3 separate regions of the Homo sapiens genome follow, and all the other regions are linked to region 1. The links are contacts of gene promoters, found by promoter capture Hi-C in blood cells and fetal thymus (Javierre and others, 2016). All regions are on one chromosome and are shown on one strand. The core of a region is centred on a gene start or on the middle of the fragment in contact, and the rest is flanking DNA. Distances in the headings are between cores, read along the strand shown. Region 1 holds the start of NUDCD2 (NudC domain containing 2). Region 2 has its middle 11 kb from the start of RARS1. Region 3 overlaps RARS1 (arginyl-tRNA synthetase 1).

Region 1 (2,864 bases), core at 359-2,858:
CCGGGTTCACGCCATTCTCCTGCCTCAGCCTGTAGTCAGCTGGGACTACAGGCGCCCGCCACCGCGCCTGGCTAATTTTTTTTGTATTTTTAGTACAGACGGGGTTTCACGGTGGTCTCGATCTCCTGACCTCGTGATCCACCTGCCTCGGCCTCCCAAAGTGCTGGGATTACAGGCGTGAGCCGCCGCGCCCGGCCGCATACAGCATCTTAAATGATGAGTGCCTACCAAACACAGCTAAGGCTTCCTGGTTACTGTGCTGTGCATTGCGGTGTTAAGAGCACACGATGGGGGCTGGGTTCATATTCCAGTCCGGTCACTTTGGTAATGTAGCACTGAGCAAATTTAAGTCTCAGTCTTTTTATCAATAAAATAATAATAGGATTACCCCTTAGAGTTGGTGGGAAATTAACATAACTAATAATCGATGTAAAGCCTTAGTACGGTGCTTGAGGTATAAGTGGTCAATATCAGCCATAACTTCATTGTTTATGTTTTCAATAAGTGCTGCTGCTCTAATTTTACACCCATAAACTGCCTTTACTAATCTTCCTTCTTTTATGCCCAAATGGAATACACAAAAGAAATGCACAAGTTCAGACTACAAGTAATACTCCAGTGTTCTTATCAGTGAGGCCCTCTCGGACTTGAAAATCAAGTAGCTACCAACGTCTCGGGTCCATTCCCTTCGCCCTGCTGTAGTTTCTCCATTACCGCTGTTTATTGACAGTATTCCCCGCCTGAATGTAAGCCCCACGGGGCGGAGACTGTTTCACTGCGGTATCCTTAGCATCCTGATTAGTGCTTGGCATGTAACAGATGCTTAGAGCATATTTGAGAAAAATCAATCAACTGAATGAGCCCCAGCCCGACCCTAAAATCGCCTCCTGCTTGCCTCCCAAGAAGGGAGCTGAAAGAGGCAAAGGGCGTTAGGGCGTCTCCCGTCCCCCAGCTCTTTCCCCCTTACGCACCAGAAGGGTCATTGAATCGTTTCAAGGGCGCCTTAGGAAAGGACATGTTGACGGCCAGCTCCAGAAACTGAAGGTGACTGGCACTCCTCGACAACTGAATGCGGATTATCACTCCCTACCGGTTTCAAATTCAAATCTCCCCACATTCCCCACCCACCCCGGCGTTAGCCAATTGGAAAGCCAAACCCCTGGGCACACCAATCCCGCACAGGAACACGAAGAAAGAATGCTGGGTTCTGATTGCGTCCAATTAGCTGGCCTGCGAGTTTAGGCTGCCATCCAATAGGAGACCGTTACTGTTCCCCGCCCCACCCACCCAGTCATTCCCGGAGTTACTCAAGTGTAACCTAGCATTTGCGCAAGCGCACTTCCCTCCGGAGACGTTAGAAAGTGCATTTTGGCGTCACTTAGGGGACGGTGTAGTGAGTTCCGGCTTCACTGGTTCCAATTCTGTCCCATTGTTCGTTGCATGTGAACTTTTCTGGATTTCAGTTCTTTCATCCGGGGCCTGCCGGTGCCGTAAACGGCCATTCAAAGGGAAAAACGAACACGCACACCAAAGCGCTAGCTTGCGTTCCTGCGCATGCGCAGTGACCCGAGCGGAGAGGCCGAGGCGTAGCCTAAGCGTGGGATTCCGCGCGTGCGCTCGGCTCCGCCTGGTGCGGCCGCGGCCGGGAGGGACTGGATTATGTCGGCCCCGTTTGAGGAGCGGAGTGGGGTGGTACCGTGCGGGACCCCGTGGGGCCAGTGGTACCAGACCTTGGAGGAGGTGTTCATTGAAGTTCAGGTGCCGCCAGGCACGCGCGCCCAGGATATCCAGTGCGGCCTCCAGAGCCGGCATGTGGCGCTGTCGGTGGGCGGCCGCGAGATCCTCAAGGTAGCGGCAGCTCGGGGCTTGTGTTCAGTTTCCTCTTCCCAGACGCCCCCAGCCCCGTTTCCCTGAACGACTGTTGGGTGTCCCGACGGCTCCTGTGGCTGGCAGAAAGAGAAAGAGGATAACACTGACCAGGTTTGGGTCTGGTCAGAGCCCCCGCCTCTTCAGGGCAGGTGCTGAGTTGTGGAAATTTGAGGAGCCTATTTTCGTGTTTAGTTTTCAAACTAAGACTGCTGCTTCTGCTTCTCTGACGGGCTTCAGCTGGGAACAGATTAACTAGGTTGCTAAAGGAACAAATATTTCTTCCGTGCACTGAAGACAGGCAGGAAGACAACAGATAACGTACCTGCAGTGGAGAGGTTAAGCTCCTGTACGGAAGCGTAATTCATAAATAGATAAATATAGGAAAGGACAACAAAGAAAATAGGGATAGAATAACGGGCAGAGAATTTAGAGATGATGTCAGGTGATTAGTTTTCTCATCTAAAAGCTTGAAAATCCTGCATGTTTGTGGAGTGGTCAAGCAGGTGGTGAAGAGGTGTGTGCATAAAATAAGTAGTACTCCTTTTATTTCTTTTCACCAATGCTCTTTGGATCTGGACCCGCTTTTTCTTTGTTAAGTGTATAATTAAACTAACAGGTTGAAATTAGATTTAGTTCTCAGGTTAGATGCCCAAGATGTTTGATGGCAGTGTAATATGGTGAAGGGAGACTACTTGTTTCCTAGTTTTGTAAACTTGGGCGAGAGATTGTTCAGTGTCTCTATATCTTCCTTATCCACAAGATAAGGTAGTTATAGTACCCTTCTCATGGGATTGTTTTGAGCTTAACATGGTATTCACGTGTATGAAGAGCTTGGAGTATTCACTGGTATGTAATAAGTTCATACTATATGTTAGCTATTAGCTATTATATATATTACAGTATATGGAGGTGCTTTGAGTGCCTCAAGATTCGTGTGAAAGACATTATGTCAGCTTGGATCTCAGTTACTTTTCTGAATTGTACAATTCATAGTT
Region 2 (2,863 bases), core at 21-2,520, 5.0 Mb before region 1:
TTAACTTTCTAAATCAACTCACAGCAGAGGAAGCTTTAGGATTACATGATTACAGAGCAGTGCGTAAATGTGATACCCTTTTTTAAACTATATAAAAATAATAATGTAACTAAGAAAAATTAGAAGTTGTGGCTGGGAAGGAGAAAGGGTAAGTATGTGCCATAATGTCCTCATCTTTATGGTGATGAGTGGAGAGGTCTTACTGAAGATGATGAATAAAAATAATACAGGCCATTTTTATTTTATTTTATTTATTTTTGAGACAGAGTCTCACTCTATCGCCCAGAGGTGGAGTGCAGTGGCACAATCTTGGTTCACTGCAACCTCCGCCTCCCAGGTTCAAGCAATTCTCCTGCCTCAGCTTCCCAAGTAGCTGGAACCACAGGCCCACACCACCCCGCCTGGCTAATTTTTGTATTTTTAGTAGAGAAGGGGTTTCACCATATTGGCCAGGCTGGTCTCAAACTCCTGACCTCAGGTGATCCACCTGCCTTGGCCTCCCAAAGTGCTAGGATCACAGGCATGAGCCACCGTGCCTGGCCTACTGAGCATTATTTTATTTTTAAATTTTATTTATTTATTTTTTTAGAGACAGAGTCTCGCTCTGTCACCCAGGCTGGAGTGCAGCGGCATGATCTCGGCTCACTGCAACCTCTGCCTCATGGGTTCAAGCAATTCTCCTGCCTCAGCCAAACGAGTAGCTGGGACTACAGGCGCATGCCGCCACACCCGGCTAATTTCTTCTGTATTTTAGTAGAGACAGGGGTTTCACTGTGTTGCCCAGGTTGGTCTTGAACTCCTGAGCTCAGGCAACCTGCCCGCCTCGACCTTCCAAAGTGCTAGGATTACGGGAGTGAGTCACTGCACCTGGCCCAGACCATTGTTAAAAAGTGGAAACCACCAGATAAACTACTGTGAGTGGTAGATTGCAGAGGGTGGGGGTGTCTTTTATTGTATATCTCATACCCTTCTACAGAATTGTGAGAATTTTTTTTTTTTACTGTATTGCCAAAGGATGAATTATAGCCAATTTAAAGATCTCAGTTGGCTTTATTGCAATTCTACAATTGGGCAATGCTTCGGTCCATGAAATAGAATCAGTGTTCCAAAGCGCTGAGCAGAATAGGCTGGCTTCATAGAGAAGGCCTGAAGGAAGCAGAAGCTAAGAACAGGATGTATTAGTCCTTTCAAAGTTACTTTTCTCATAAGATAGGGACATAATAGAATAATAGAAAAATAACTGCGTAGTTAACGACAGTTTCCTTCAGGCTACCTTTTTGCCTGTAAGGATTAAGGCAGAGGGAACTTCTTCATGACTGAAGGACTGAAGGCTTCAAAGGACCTGTCTGGGAAATTGGGTGTTCTCTCTCTCCCGATTTCCCTGAAGGTCAGGTAACTTAGTTTAGGTTTGGTGACATGAAACTTGAGCATGGGTGACTCCATTCTGATTTTTAGTCTGGTCTGTTGGGGCCTGGTGCAGGAGCTTAGTCCAAAACCATGGCCTCCTATCATTTTTACTTAATGATGTGTATCAATTACTTACATAATAATTGAAAACTAAGTCTAATTTTTTTCAAAAAAGACACTAGGCTCCCATCCTGAGGCTCTGGGAGAGGGCACGCTCTTTGAGACAGAGTCTCACTCCATTGCCCAGGCTGGAGTGCCGTGGCACGATCTCGGTTCACTGCAACCTCCGCCTCCCAGGTTCAAGCAATTCTCCTGCCTCAGCTGTGCACTCTCCTATGCACAGTGAGAATGCCCCCAAGCACACGGTGACTCTCCTAGGGAGGGGTGGGGCTGAGACAAAGCCCTGACCTAGGAGGAGGCAGGTCCCCTGATCCTTGAAAACCTCTCTTTTTCCCTCTCCCTCCTATCACAAGGGTGGTGGGAAGGCCCACCCAGGGTGCGTGAGCCACTGCGCCCGGCCCCAGATGTTTTCATCATCACTATTTTTGCCATTTCTTTGTTTCACCTAAGTACATATTTTTCTTTAAATTGATTCACTTTATTAACTTAAATATTTACTTATCCTCATCTTAAACAGTAATATCTGTGAAAGCATGGGTTTGATGGACAAGTTATATATTATGTATATTAAAACAAATATGACTATAAATATAAAAATTCACCCATGTACCACCTAACATTATCTCCTGTCACCAATCATACACTTATGCCTCCCTCTGGGGAAACAGTGCATCCAGTCACTTGTTGTCATAGCAGCCTGCAGAGAGGGTTGAAAACCATTTGGAAGTGTGTGCCCACATTCGTGTTGGTACTTGGCAGGATTGGAATTAGAACTTTGGTCTTAGCTTAATTCACTCACTGAACAAGTGTTGGAGGGTCTGCCATCTGTCAGGGACTGTCATGGCCCCAGGGCTAAAATAGTGAACAAGATATGCATGGTGCCTGCCCTGTGTCTCCAACATCCTAATAAACAGACAGATAAAACTAAAGAATCAAATACATAAATGCAAATGGTAAAAAGTACTGCAATGGCAAGCTTGTGTTCTTTTGTTACTCTAATTAGCTTCATGTATATTTATCAGCTACTCTGTGGTTGGTTGCAAATTTATTACTTACCACATTCTCCTAAATACATTTATTCAGGCCAGTGCCATGGCTCACGCCTGTAATTCCAGCATTTTGAGAGGCTGAGGCGGGCAGATCAGTTGAGGTCAGGAGTTCAAGTCTAGTCTGGCCAACATGGTGAAACCCTGTCTCTACTAAAAATACAAAAATTAGCCAGACGTGGTGGTGTATGTCTGTAGTCCCAGCTACTTGGGAAGCTGAGGCAGGAGAATCACTTGAGTCTAGGAGGCGGAGGTTGCAGTGAGCTGAGATCACACCACTGCACTCCAGC
Region 3 (2,700 bases), core at 23-2,522, 5.0 Mb before region 1:
ACCTGACAAGGCACGAGATGCATTTTACGTTAAGAACCATCAAAAGGCAGAAGCAGAGAAGTCCAATCACATTATGAATGACAGATTAAAGTATCAATAGTGCCAAGAGGCATAGAAAGTGCCCACACTACATGATCTCTATTTCCAAATACGTTACACACAAATACCTGGAACTATTTTTTTTTTTTTTTTTTTTTGAGATGGAGTCTCGCTCTGTTGCCCAGGCTGGAGTGCAGTGGTGTGATCTCGGCTCACTGTAACCTCCGCCCCTGGGTTCAAGCAATTCTCCTGCCTCAGCCTCCCTAGTAGCTGGGATTACAACACCTCGAACTTTTTAATGATGACATAACAAAGTCTACAGTTATGAAGTCTGGTTCCAGCATATTTACATTTCTAATTTTCAAGCCATGAAGGTGTGCAATATTCACACTTGAGAAATAAACCACACTGTAAGACCTGGACTCTTCAGAGTAACCCCTTCCAATTCAGCAAAGAAAGGAAAACAGAAAGACCCAAGCCAGATGCAGTTAACCATAAACACATCAGACAATGCCTCTATTTAAAATGGGGAACTCCTCTGCTTGAAAATGAATATATAAGCCTGGCTCAAAGATCACAGTTACATCAAATATTTAATTGGGATGCTGACTGGTAAATGGCTTATTTTAATTTTTCACCTCCCAGCACTCATCACCACCACACAGCAATCCTGGACACAGCAGGAGGGAAATACCTAAACAAAAGAGTACCAATGATTGCCCTTAAATATTGAGAATACATATAAAATTTAACCAAACCTTAAAAATTGTGCCTAAAAAAGTTAAAACATATACCCCCCCAACTCCTTTCTCAAGTTTTTCAAACTGTGGCAAATGTCCTTTTCACTAAGGATACAACTTGTAATAGTATTATTTCTGTAAATGGCAATGATGATAATAATACTTAAAAAAATCAAACAGCCAAGAGTCATGACAATACATCACCTGAGAAATACCCATAGCACTATTACACTGATAGTCCCCAAACTTGGCCTGCTGACTTGGTGTCACTAGCAGAGGAGGATTTTCCAAATCTGGATATGCAGCCTTAATTGCATGACCAAAGACCTCTTGTAGGCGGCTAATAATGTTAATCATATTTTTAGTTGGTTTGTTCCTTTCTGCCTGAAGACTCTGTAGGAAAAGAATGGAAACATGTCAATAATGTACGTAAAACCATCATCATACAAGATGTCTCCAAATATTTTGAGTATAAACCTCCAAATATCTTAAGAACCAAAAGGGAAAACGTACTTATGGTGTGATGCCCTCAATCTGGGATTTGCTAAGACATGCAGCAGGACAAGTCCATCCCACGGCATCTAAGACATCCATGGGAAATGCCCTGAGGTCTTACTTTTTGCATTTGTTTTAGCAGAACAGAAACTGGGAGGAGGGAGTTAAAAGAGCTGATGGAATCCTTTTCTCAGCTTCTCCAAATCTCTGAGAAAATAATTTATTTCACATCAAATATTGGAAGTGAAAACTCAATGGACAAAAAACAAACAAAAAAATACATGATGTCCATCAAAATGTTGACCTCTTCAAGGCATGAAATAAAAGGGAGCAAAGCAGGTAATATTAATATACCAGAAAAGCCAGTAGTTTTGTTTTACTGTTATGAGACCTACTACCTCCTGTTTTCCCATGGAATATAGTCATTTAAGATGGCATATAATTATCTCTATTACTGCACTTATCATACCCTCACAAAACTATCTGTCTCTACCACTAGACTGCTGGATGCACACAAAGTGCTTAATTCATGGCTCTCTTCCCTGTCCCTGGCATCTAGCACTGTACTTGCCATACAGCAGTTTAGCAAAAAAAAAAAAAAAAAAAAAAAGGTGAATGACACATATGCTTTTAATAGAAGATAAACATGCTGCCTATACACCTTTATGTTTGTCAATTTTATGTTCATCAACATGTTCATCACAATTTTATGTTCATCACAAATTTATATTCATCAAAATGTCAACAGTATAAAATAATGACAATAACAAAAGTTAATACTTGAGTATGCAAAGATTTGAACCAAATGCTTTATTTATATGCATTATCTTATTCCATCTACATAATAAAATCGAGCTTGTTACTATTATCACTATTTCTATGTGGGCTACAGATAAGTCACTTGTCAAAGACAAGACAGAATAAGTGGAAAAGGCCAGATTCAAACTCAGGTCTATTGGAATGGACAGTCCAAGTTTTATGCTCCCCTCATCAGCCCTCTCTATCATATGAAGAAATTATATTCTTAAATTCACTAAAAAACCTGATTTCAAGTTTGTAGCTAATCAATAATTGACTCCTCTCTGTGGTAACATACTTAAAACAAGGAAGATACATTTTTCCCAATCTAAAGATTTCCAACAGCAAATGCCAAATTTACTTGGATATGATCCTTTTCTCTTCTTTGTTGGGGGTAACAGACAAGATCTCACTGTGCACTCTGCTGAGGCTAAAGTGCAGTGGCATGACAGCTCACTGTAACCTTGAACTCCTGGGTTCAAGACATCCTCCTGCCTTGGCCTCCCAAAGCATTGAGATTACAGGCATGAGCCACCACACTTGGCCTAGATTATGATCTTATACCCAAAACCTGCTATAATAAATGTCAATTTTTTGTTTATTTTTATGTATTTATTTTTTTGGGACC

The links. The method cuts DNA at HindIII sites, captures the fragments that hold promoters and counts their contacts. A CHiCAGO score of 5 or more calls a contact.
Region 2: a contact is called between a fragment that was not itself captured here and the fragment with the promoter of NUDCD2 in region 1, in 1 of 17 cell types (naive CD8 T cells). The highest score is 10.1, in naive CD8 T cells.
Region 3: a fragment that was not itself captured here is called in contact with the fragment with the promoter of NUDCD2 in region 1 in 2 of 17 cell types (non-activated CD4 T cells and total B cells); the score reaches 7.3 in non-activated CD4 T cells.

What each region holds. Positions count from the first base shown.
Region 1 is chr5:163,458,846-163,461,709 of GRCh38, reverse strand. NUDCD2 (NudC domain containing 2) reads left to right here and starts at 1,608. Exons shown (of 4, transcript NM_145266.6): 1 at 1,608-1,848. The coding sequence starts at 1,660. It overlaps HMMR (hyaluronan mediated motility receptor), which reads right to left and starts at 1,078. Exons shown (of 18, transcript NM_001142556.2): 1 at 972-1,078. The coding sequence starts at 1,017. RefSeq lists enhancers at 832-891, 1,642-1,891 and a silencer at 1,222-1,311. The HindIII fragment of the contact is 3,644 bases long and covers 1-2,337 here.
Region 2 is chr5:168,474,015-168,476,877 of GRCh38, reverse strand. No RefSeq gene overlaps it. Among named protein-coding and RNA genes, the nearest start is that of RARS1, 11 kb to the left of the region's middle. The HindIII fragment of the contact is 2,470 bases long and covers 36-2,505 here.
Region 3 is chr5:168,491,131-168,493,830 of GRCh38, reverse strand. RARS1 (arginyl-tRNA synthetase 1) reads right to left here. Exons shown (of 15, transcript NM_002887.4): 3 at 984-1,172. Among named protein-coding and RNA genes, the nearest start is that of RARS1, 6.0 kb to the right of the region's middle. RefSeq lists an enhancer at 2,662-2,700. The HindIII fragment of the contact is 6,048 bases long and covers 1-2,700 here.